2 separate regions of the Homo sapiens genome follow, and region 1 is linked to region 2. Evidence: promoter capture Hi-C in human tissues and cell types (Jung and others, 2019). All regions are on one chromosome and are shown on one strand. The core of a region is centred on a gene start or on the middle of the fragment in contact, and the rest is flanking DNA. Distances in the headings are between cores, read along the strand shown. Region 1 overlaps LINC02320 (long intergenic non-protein coding RNA 2320). Region 2 holds the start of DIO3 (iodothyronine deiodinase 3).

Evidence for each region. Contacts are between HindIII fragments. The study calls those that stand out against the background at their distance.
Region 1: a fragment that was not itself captured here is called in contact with the fragment with the promoter of DIO3 in region 2 in 2 of the 25 tissues and cell types used here (mesendoderm cells and pancreas).

Annotation. Positions count from the first base shown.
Region 1 is chr14:101,630,942-101,635,660 of GRCh38, forward strand. LINC02320 (long intergenic non-protein coding RNA 2320) reads right to left here. Exons shown (of 6, transcript NR_184269.1): 2 at 4,375-4,547; 3 at 3,502-3,738; 4 at 1,965-2,174; 5 at 1,472-1,645. Among named protein-coding and RNA genes, the nearest start is that of DIO3, 72 kb to the left of the region's middle. The HindIII fragment of the contact is 8,632 bases long and covers 1-4,719 here.
Region 2 is chr14:101,558,993-101,563,535 of GRCh38, forward strand. DIO3 (iodothyronine deiodinase 3) reads left to right here and starts at 2,503. Exons shown (of 1, transcript NM_001362.4): 1 at 2,503-4,460. The coding sequence starts at 2,505. The coding sequence ends at 3,419. DIO3OS (DIO3 opposite strand upstream RNA) reads right to left here and starts at 1,430. Exons shown (of 2, transcript NR_152588.1): 1 at 1,260-1,430. It overlaps MIR1247 (microRNA 1247), which reads right to left and starts at 1,430; the gene lies at 1,295-1,430. The HindIII fragment of the contact is 20,870 bases long and covers 1-4,543 here.

The DNA.
Region 1 (4,719 bases), core at 1,535-4,034, 72 kb after region 2:
TATAAAGTTGTTTCATAAGGTGCATCATTCTTAAGAAGTATTAAATCAGATTTTAAAAGCTTTGACCAAGTTAATCTTTCTTCTGCCTACTTTTCCTTCTGCACAGGGGGAAGTATGGAAACGGTCTCTGCATAAAGATACTCTGCTGCATCATTTATAAAAAGAAAAATTGAAAACAGCCTAAAAGCACAATAGACGATTCAAATGATCTATGGTTCACATACCTGTGAGGGTTTTATAGAGATGCTGAAACGCTGCTTAGAAGAGAGAAACACACATGTCAACAACGTGAAGTGAAAAAAAAGAAACAAGATTAAAAACTGTGTCTGCACGGGTGAGCATAATGAATGGAAAACAAAGCTAAATTATGTAGAGGAAAAAATACTCAGGAAAACAAACACAGTGAAATGTTGACAGAAGTGTTTCTTGTTGGCAGAGCCATGGGATTTTCTTCCTTATTCACTTACTTAATACATATTTATTGAGCACCTACTACGAGCCCAGCCCTGTCTGAGGCATTAACAGCACAACTGCTATTTCTACTGCCTATATTTTCCCAAATGTGTTTAAAACTGTTTTAAAACTATGTATTTTTTTCTTATTTTTGTTTGTTTGTTTGTTTGTTCTGAGACAGGCTCAAGTGATCCTCCCACCTCAGCCTCCCCAGTAGCTGGGACTACAGGCGTGCACTACTACACCCCACTAATTTTTGTATTTTTTGTAGAAACAGGGTCTCGTTGTGCTGCCCAAGCTAGCCTCGAGCTCCGGGCCTCAAGCAATCCACCCACCTCAGCTTCCCAAGCTCTGGGATTACAGGTGTGAGCCACCGTGCCCAGCCAAGTATAATTTTTTTTAATGACAGGGTACATGTTTCACCTGCCACGTTGCCAACAAATAAACATAAGACGCTCTGTTGGTGAGGAGAGGATATAGGAACACCAGCCCCGCCTGGCAGAAGAATGAATGACCACGACCAATAAAGGACCAGTTATCAACACTTAAAACCGACATACTTTTTCCCAGCAATTCCACCTGTAGTCATTGTCCCTACTGGGATTCTCTCCCACCTTTGTCGTGGGATGTTTACGAAGCTTGTTTACCGTGGCATGTGACTGCTGGAACCCCGAATGGTCCTCGCCAGGGGATGGCTACCCAGATCGTGGTTCAGACTCAGGAAAACACTGAGCCCTGAGAAGAACGAGGCGATCTGCCAGTGTGTGGAACACTAAGCTGAGGTCCCTAAGGGACAGAGCAAGGCGGATCACTTGAGATCAGGAATTCGAGACCAGCCTGGCCAACATGGTGAAACCCTGTCTCTACTAAACATACAAAAATTAGCCGGGCGTGGTGGCGGGCACCTGTAATCCCAGCTCCTTGGGAGGCTGAAGCAGGAGAATCCCTTGAACCTGGGAGGTGGAGGTTGCAGTGAGCCGAGATCATGCCCAAGATCTCTGCTCTTCCCCCGTCTTGCCTTAGTGATCCTGGGCATGTCCCTTCACCTCTGCGGCCTCAGTTTCTCATCTGCACAGTGAAGATGCTGATGCCCGCCTGGCTGATGCCCGCCTGGCTGCTTCCTGGACAGATTTCCCAGGATGTGCTGTGTGACAGGCCTTCCACACAGGCCCTCAGGCACCTTTTCTTCTTCCTGAGATGGAAACAACAAAAAAGTTGGTGCATGGTCACCAGCGATCCCCAAACTACGACCTCTGCCCTCTTTTCCTGCAGACCCCTCAAAAATCACGAAAGGGGCCCTTGCAATAGGGGGTCTCTATGGACTCAAACAAAGGGCTTTCCCTGGGAGGGGCTGCCGGCCTTTGCCTATAACATGCGTGATGTAGTTTTTAAGACTAGCAAAAGCCCAGCCTGGCATTATCTAGCATTGAGGTACAGCGTCTCACGGAAAGTTCTTTTTTATTCCCCAGGCTGTCCCCTTCTCCTCCATTCCCGGATAAGCCTTCACTCACCTCTGCACCTCACCAGCATCCACTCAGAGAGACCCAGCCCCTCAAACCCAGCCAGCAGGGACCACGCTGCACATTAAGTTTGCTCAACTGCTCCAGGTTATTTGAAAACTTATGAAACCTTTTTCTTAAAAAAATCAAAGTCCCATTGTGAGAGGGAATCCAGTACTTTCTTAAAAGTACTAACTCAGCAGCTGCAGGAATCTTCCTGACCTAAAGAAAGAGGAAGGAGAAAAAACACAATCACCCCTGGCTTCTGACACGCATACTCCTGGCTGGATTCTAGATTAGAACAAAGGGGACATAGGTCACGGAGCCATTTCTGTGCCTAGACACCACCTTTGATTTTGCAGGGTGGCGCACCAGGGCTTAGCCACAAGGGGGTCGTGATTCAGTGGGTATGAACTCCAGTGGGGGAGTGCGGGGAGAGACAGCAGGCCAGTGGTCCTTCGGGGAAGATGCGGGAGGGGGTTCTTTTTTAATTTTTCTGGTCTGTTCCACATAACTGAATGCCAGGGACCCAACCTGGATGGGTAGGGGGTGCCAGGTGCAGACCTGACTCTGCACTAGGAAGGAATGCTTGTCACCACCGGCAGGCATGTGTGCTTCTCAGCCCGTCCCAGAGGACAATCCCGAACCACTGATCCAAAGCCTTAAAACCCTGCAGAACTTTTGACCCAGGCCCCACTGCTAGGAATGAATAACATAGTAAAGATAGGTGGGACGATTGAGCTACCAGCGTGTTTATGACTACCACGTTTTCAGCAGGTGAAGTGCAAAGTGCCTAATGTTCACAAGAGGGGCTGAGTTGAGCAAAAGCAAATTTCAGTTCAGCCATACCCTAAAATATGAATACAAATATTGCCGTGGCTAATACCATGAAAACTTGGTCTCATCAAACCGTCTAGCAGATTACAAGCACTCTGGACAGTATGTTACTATGCAGAGACATAGGAAAATGTCTACGAAGAAATACACCAAAATGTTAATGACAGTCATCTCTGAGTGACTTCTCTTTGTTAATATCTCTGCATGTTCTGATGTTTCCCACAATAAACTGATGTATCTTTTGTTGATTTCAGAGCGTGGCCTTGAGGATGTTCCTTCACCTCTCTGAGCTTCAGGCTCCTCACCTGTACAATGAAGACAGCACCTGCCTCATGGATTTGCTAATATATGCAAAATGCATAGCTTGCTGCCTGGAAGATAATAAGTACCCAAATGTTAGCTGTTTTTATTTTTCGCTCAATTTTCTACATATAAACATGTCATTGTGCTCCGTGCTGGGGATATGGCAGTGACAGCTAAACTCCAGAAGAGAAAGATTAAACCAACACTCACAGACGATTAATCCGCTGCCGTGAGGACCAATGATGTATTCATTACAGTTAGGGATGCTGTGGTGGGGGGCACGTTGAGAGCATTTATCAGGGGAACTTTGTTGAGAGTTTTGATCATTATCTTAAGAGCAACAGGAAGCCTGACATTGAAGGCTTCAAGCAGAGCTGTGAAATCAGAAGTTCATGGTTTAAGAACTCACCATATCCACACCGTGGACTGAGAGGGGCCCCAGGGAGGTGCCTTCCCAGGAGGCTGCTGTGGGGGTGCGAACCACGGAGGAAGTGCTGCCACGGCAGATGGGGCGAAGTGGACAGACCCCAGCCCCTTCAGGAGGTGCAGTTTGCAAAATCTGGACACAGTGATGCCTCGGAGGGGCTTGTGGCGGGATGGTCGGGTGACCCCAGACCTCTAGTCTGATGTAGTGCGCCGATGGTTCCTGGATACAGAGGACTCAGTGGGGAGCAGGTCTGGGGCGTTGCGGAGTGTGTCTAGGGGAGTGTGTCTGGGGACATGCTGGTTTTGGGTTGCCTGGGCGGGGGAGGAGGGTGTCCAAGGGGATGTCCTGGAAGCAGAGCAGTCTGTGGTCGCTTTGAACTCGGGATCCGCGAGACCCCAGGGGTTCACCTCCATTGCATCCGGGAGAGACACCGGTTAGGGGATGCAGGACTCCCCAGCGCTGGGAGCGCGAGGCCTATCTAAAGGCCAGACGTTCTCAGAGTCCGAGGCTCGGGTACAGGTGTTGCGCCTCCGACGTGGAGGGGCGCGGGGCTGGGAGCCCAAGCCAGGTGCGCGGGTGGCCTCGCTGGTACACGAGGCGGCTCGGTCTCAGAGGGTCAGTGGGGGCCGGACCCTCAGCGTTGGTGGCCGCTTTCCTCTAGGGTGGGCGTATGGCCGCCTCCCCCAGGCAGTCCTCCTGCCTTGCCCGCGAGGCCAGCTCAAAAGCCTTTATGCCCGGGCCGCCCGCCAGGGGCGCCCTTCCCAGCCCGCGCTCGCCCGCTCTGCCTCGCCCACGCTCGCCCCCACCCCTGCCCTGAGCCCTGCATCCCGGGAAGCCCCCTCTGCAGGTACTCACTAAACATCGTGGAATGAGGGAAACAGAGACCCGGAGAGAGGAGCGCGGGGAGAAGAGAGCCCACGATGTTCCCAGCCCTTCTCCCAGTGAGATCATGAGTCATTTTATGTTCCAGCGTCTATGCTTCAACACCTTCCAGATTTTCCTCCGTGAGCTGGCATCTCCTCCGTGAGCTGGTGGAGTCAGAAACCAGCATTTTTCTATCACTGTTTCTGAAGATGTGCTGAATACGAACCAAAGACCAGGGCGCTCCGGGGAGGGGACCGGGCGGGCTCTAGCTTTGCGAGGTGCCAGGGGGTGTTGGTAGGGGCCGTGCCTGCTGCTCCCCCAGCGTGGGGCGGTCCT
Region 2 (4,543 bases), core at 1,253-3,752:
GCCTTAGGTGGCTTATGCATTTTCTGAAACTAACTGTGGGAAAAGGGCTTGGGGAACCATCCCATGTGCCTGCACCAAATGCTGTGTGGGTGGGGCAGGACACAAGCCCTACACTGACACCTCCCAGAAATCAGGGAATCAGAGCTTGAGAGATTGTCCAGTAAAAGTTGGAACCCTCAACACCCCTTGACTCTGCCCAGGAGGAGCAACCTCAGAAGCCCCCCCAAACCTCCTCTCAGAGACCTGCCGAGTAGGAGGCTTCTCTCTCTACTCTCCTCCCCGCAAAAAAGAGGCCAGAAAAGAGGATGATTGGCTAACTCAGAGGTGCCCTGATGGAGGGGAGCAAACAAGGGGACTTCCAAGGAGAATTCCCTAGCCCACCTGAAAGACCCCTACCCAGAGTGGTGAGGGGCAGCTTAGGAGCACTGACGCAAGGGGGAGAGACCAGGCTGGCTTCCCTCTACGTAGTAAGTTCCTGGGGTGTGCGCCCCTGCCCCAGACAGCAGAGAAATCGCCTGACTGGGAGATGGAGAAGAGGGGCCACCTTCTCATGCCACCCCGCCGCCAATCCTCCAGGCACACTCGGGCGCTTGACCTGCTGAAGCCTGTAGCCTCAGGTCCAGTGAGGAGCTCACGGGACAGAGGGCCCTACCAGAGCCACGAAAACCGGAGGGGGGGACCTCCGCCCAAGGCAGGCGTCTCTGCGCGCCCGCTGGGGCCCTGGTCCTGCAGTTGGCTTCTCCCGACACGTTCCTTCGCTGCCGAAAGCGATTCGCCCGCGCTCTACCGAGCCCAGCCAGCTCCTACCTCGGCCCGGGCGGCGAGCGCTGTCTCCGTCCCGAGAAGAAGTTTCGCGGCTGGTCCCGGGGCGGCAGGCGCACGGGACGCTGGCGGCGGCGGCGGCTTCCGACTTGGGCTCAGACCCCGCCGCTCCAGACAAGTCCCCGCGACTGCGACAGTGTCTCGGGCAGTTCAGCTCCCCAGACGGGAGACAGACCCTCGCGACCTGGTTCAGGCCTTGCCCTGGGGGACACTGCAGTCCAAGGCGAAAGGAGACTTGCTCCCGGCCTCTGGGTCCCTAGGTCAAGGCACCTCCCCGCCCCGCCGCCCCTGAGCCCAAGTCGCCAACCCCGCGCCGCGCGCAGCGAGGGATCAGAAGGTCTCGGACGCCGCGGCAGGGCCGGCCAGGGCCCCACGAGTTAGGGAGTTGCCCCGCACCCCTAAACGCTCAGCACCCATTTACGGTTGAAAGTACGCACTTGACGCGTCCGGGCGCCTCCGCGGTGAGTCGCGCCGCCGCTCTCGGGGTCCGCGAAGGTGGCTCAGTTCGGGCGCTCCAGTCTCGACGTTCCCGGGGTAGAGAGCAACGTCCGGGGACGAACGGGACGGGTGCGCCCAGCGGCCGGGGCTGCGCTGGGCGAGGCAAGCGGCGAGAGGGGAGCGCTCCGGCGTTCAGGCAACAGCTACCCCTAGTGGGAGAGCCGCCCGGGGCCGGCGCCGCCCCGCGCCCGCTGCCCCGCGCCCCACGCCCGTGGCGCCCCGCGCCCGGGTCGGCTGGGGGCGCAGGGCCGGCGCCGCTTTCCCCAGCTCTCCGGTCTCCGGCGCCCGGCGGTAACCCGCCCGCGGGCTCTGCCCTCCGCACCTCTCAGCCCGGCCCCGGCGGCCGCTGACCCAGGAACCGCGGCGCCCCGCTGGAACGAGATGGGACGGGGCGGGCGCGGCCAGGGCGGCGCGGGCTGGGGCGGCGCGCGGCAGCCTCGGGCAGCGGCGGGGGGCGCGGAGCGCGGTGTGCGTGGCGGGGCGGTGCGGGGGGCGGCCGTGTGCGAGGCGCGAGTGTGAGCGCGCGCGGGAGGCGGGCGGGCGGGCTCCGGCAGGCGAGCGGCGCCCGCGGGCGAGCCAGGAAGGCGGCGGGAACGCAAAGTTGCCTCCTCGCTGGCCCGCGTCCTCGGTGGGGCGGGAGCCGGGGCCACCGAAGCGGCGGCCGCGGACCCGGCCTCCCGCGGCACCTGGGCAGCGGCCCCGCACGAGCGGCAGCGGCGTGGGCGGCGTTGGCGGCGGCGCGCGGGAAGCGAACCGGAGCTCCGGCGCGGCTCGGCGGCCGCCGGGGAGCTCGGCTCAGGTGCGCGGCGAGGGGGGCGCGGGCCGGAGCCAGGCGGCGGGGACCAGGGCGGCGCGCAGCGCTCGCGCCAGCTGGAGGACCTCCCCAGCGGACGCCCAGGTCCCTGGTCGGGCTCCCGGTCCCCAGCGGCAGCGGCTGCCGGAGTCCCCCGCCCCCGAGAGCTGGCTGCGGGGCCCGGGCCCGCCCCCACCGGCCCCAGGCCCGGCCGCTCCGCCCTCCGCCCGCCTGCGCCCGCCCTCAGCCCAAGATTTCTAGGGCATTGGCCGCGCTGCTGGGTGATCCCTCCGGGCTCAAGTTGCAAGGGGGCGGGCCGGGCCGGAGGTGGAGTCTCCCGCCAATTGAAGCCTCCGCTATAAATTGAACTCCCTGCACTGCTGAAGCCCAGATGCCTCGCCAGGCCACGTCGCGGTTGGTGGTCGGAGAGGGCGAGGGGTCCCAGGGGGCTTCGGGGCCTGCAGCCACCATGCTCCGCTCCCTGCTGCTTCACTCCTTGAGGCTCTGCGCCCAGACCGCCTCGTGCCTCGTGCTCTTCCCGCGCTTCCTCGGCACGGCCTTCATGCTCTGGCTTCTCGATTTCTTGTGTATCCGCAAGCATTTCCTGGGCCGCCGCCGCCGGGGGCAGCCCGAGCCCGAAGTGGAGCTCAACAGTGAAGGCGAGGAGGTGCCTCCCGATGACCCGCCCATCTGCGTGTCCGACGACAACCGCCTGTGCACCCTGGCGTCGCTCAAGGCGGTGTGGCATGGCCAGAAGTTGGATTTCTTCAAGCAGGCGCACGAGGGCGGTCCGGCGCCCAACTCCGAGGTGGTTCTGCCCGACGGCTTCCAGAGCCAGCACATCCTCGACTACGCGCAAGGGAACCGCCCGCTGGTTCTCAATTTCGGCAGCTGCACCTGACCACCGTTCATGGCGCGCATGAGCGCCTTCCAGCGCCTGGTCACTAAGTACCAGCGCGACGTCGACTTCCTCATCATCTACATCGAGGAAGCGCACCCCTCCGACGGCTGGGTCACCACGGACTCTCCCTACATCATCCCACAGCACCGGAGCCTGGAGGACCGGGTCAGCGCAGCGAGGGTACTGCAGCAAGGTGCACCCGGCTGCGCTCTGGTCCTCGACACCATGGCCAACTCCAGCAGCTCGGCCTATGGCGCCTACTTCGAGCGTCTCTATGTCATCCAGAGTGGCACTATTATGTACCAGGGCGGCCGTGGCCCCGACGGCTACCAGGTCTCTGAGCTGCGCACTTGGTTGGAACGCTATGATGAGCAACTGCACGGCGCTCGGCCCCGGAGGGTGTAAACATCCAACGGACAATTGACTGAACTTGGTGGGCTGGGCCTTCGAGCCTTCGAAGCCCACGTGCAAGCGCCTCAAACCAAGTCACGCTTGGCGAGGCCCCAGTGACACTGATGTGCTGAGCCACCATTTCAGACTGAGTCTGCACCCTCAGCCACATGAACAATCTCCCCTACCTCCCTGGGACTCTGCTTCTGTAACTGTCTCATTCACACCTGCCTGGCTCACTGGAAATCCTCTTTTGAGCGCGGGATATGGCTTGCCCTTGTCCGTGTGCCCCCAGGACTTTGCCTCTACAGCATTTTCTTACACCCCCTCCCCAGCGTGCCCTCAGCCAAGTGCTTTGGCCCGGTGCTTCCCGCAGCTGCACAGAGACCTTGGCCACGCCCGCGCGCCCTGAGCGCAGCTGGGTTCCAGGAGACTCTCAGCTCAGCTGAGCTAGTTGCCTGGCACCCACCTGTCGCGCGCGGAGAGGGGGTTCCCTGTTGCTTTTGTGTCTGTTTCCTGTCCCTGGTAGGGGAAGTGATGTCGTGGATGGGGAGGGGTGGGCAGGGTAGTTTCCCCCGCTTGTTTTGGGTGCACAGGAGCCCCACTGCTGATGACGAACTATCTCTAACTGGTCTTGACCACGAGCTAGTTCTGAATTGCAGGGGCCTCAAAGCAGCACCTAAACCTTGAGGGGGAGGGTGCTCTGGGTTTCCGTGAGGTAACCACCTTAAATGGGAGGGAAGTTGGGGTGTCTGCTTTGGGACCAGAGGAAGATAGCTTGAGAGGCATTGGCGAGGTTCGCAGCGCCCCAGGGAGAGAGAAAAAGCTGAGACTCCTGGGGAATGACGTTGGGGTGATGGAGTCCGGGGAAAGAGAGGTGGGGGGAGAGCCTGAGGTCCCCAAGTGAGGGGAGTCCTAGGCAGAGCTGCTGATTGTGGGGCTGGGAGGTGGAGGGCCCCTGATTCGAAGGCCATTTGGTGAGTGTTTTGCTGGAAATATTTCCTGTATATAAACTTCTTTCAATCTACAATAATAAAGGCTTGAGGTAAACTGCTTTCTGGTTGCCTTTGGTCCCTTTATTTTCTTTTCCCTCTGAATAGCGGCAGGAATTAAACACAAATCCCTCCCTCGCGTCCCCA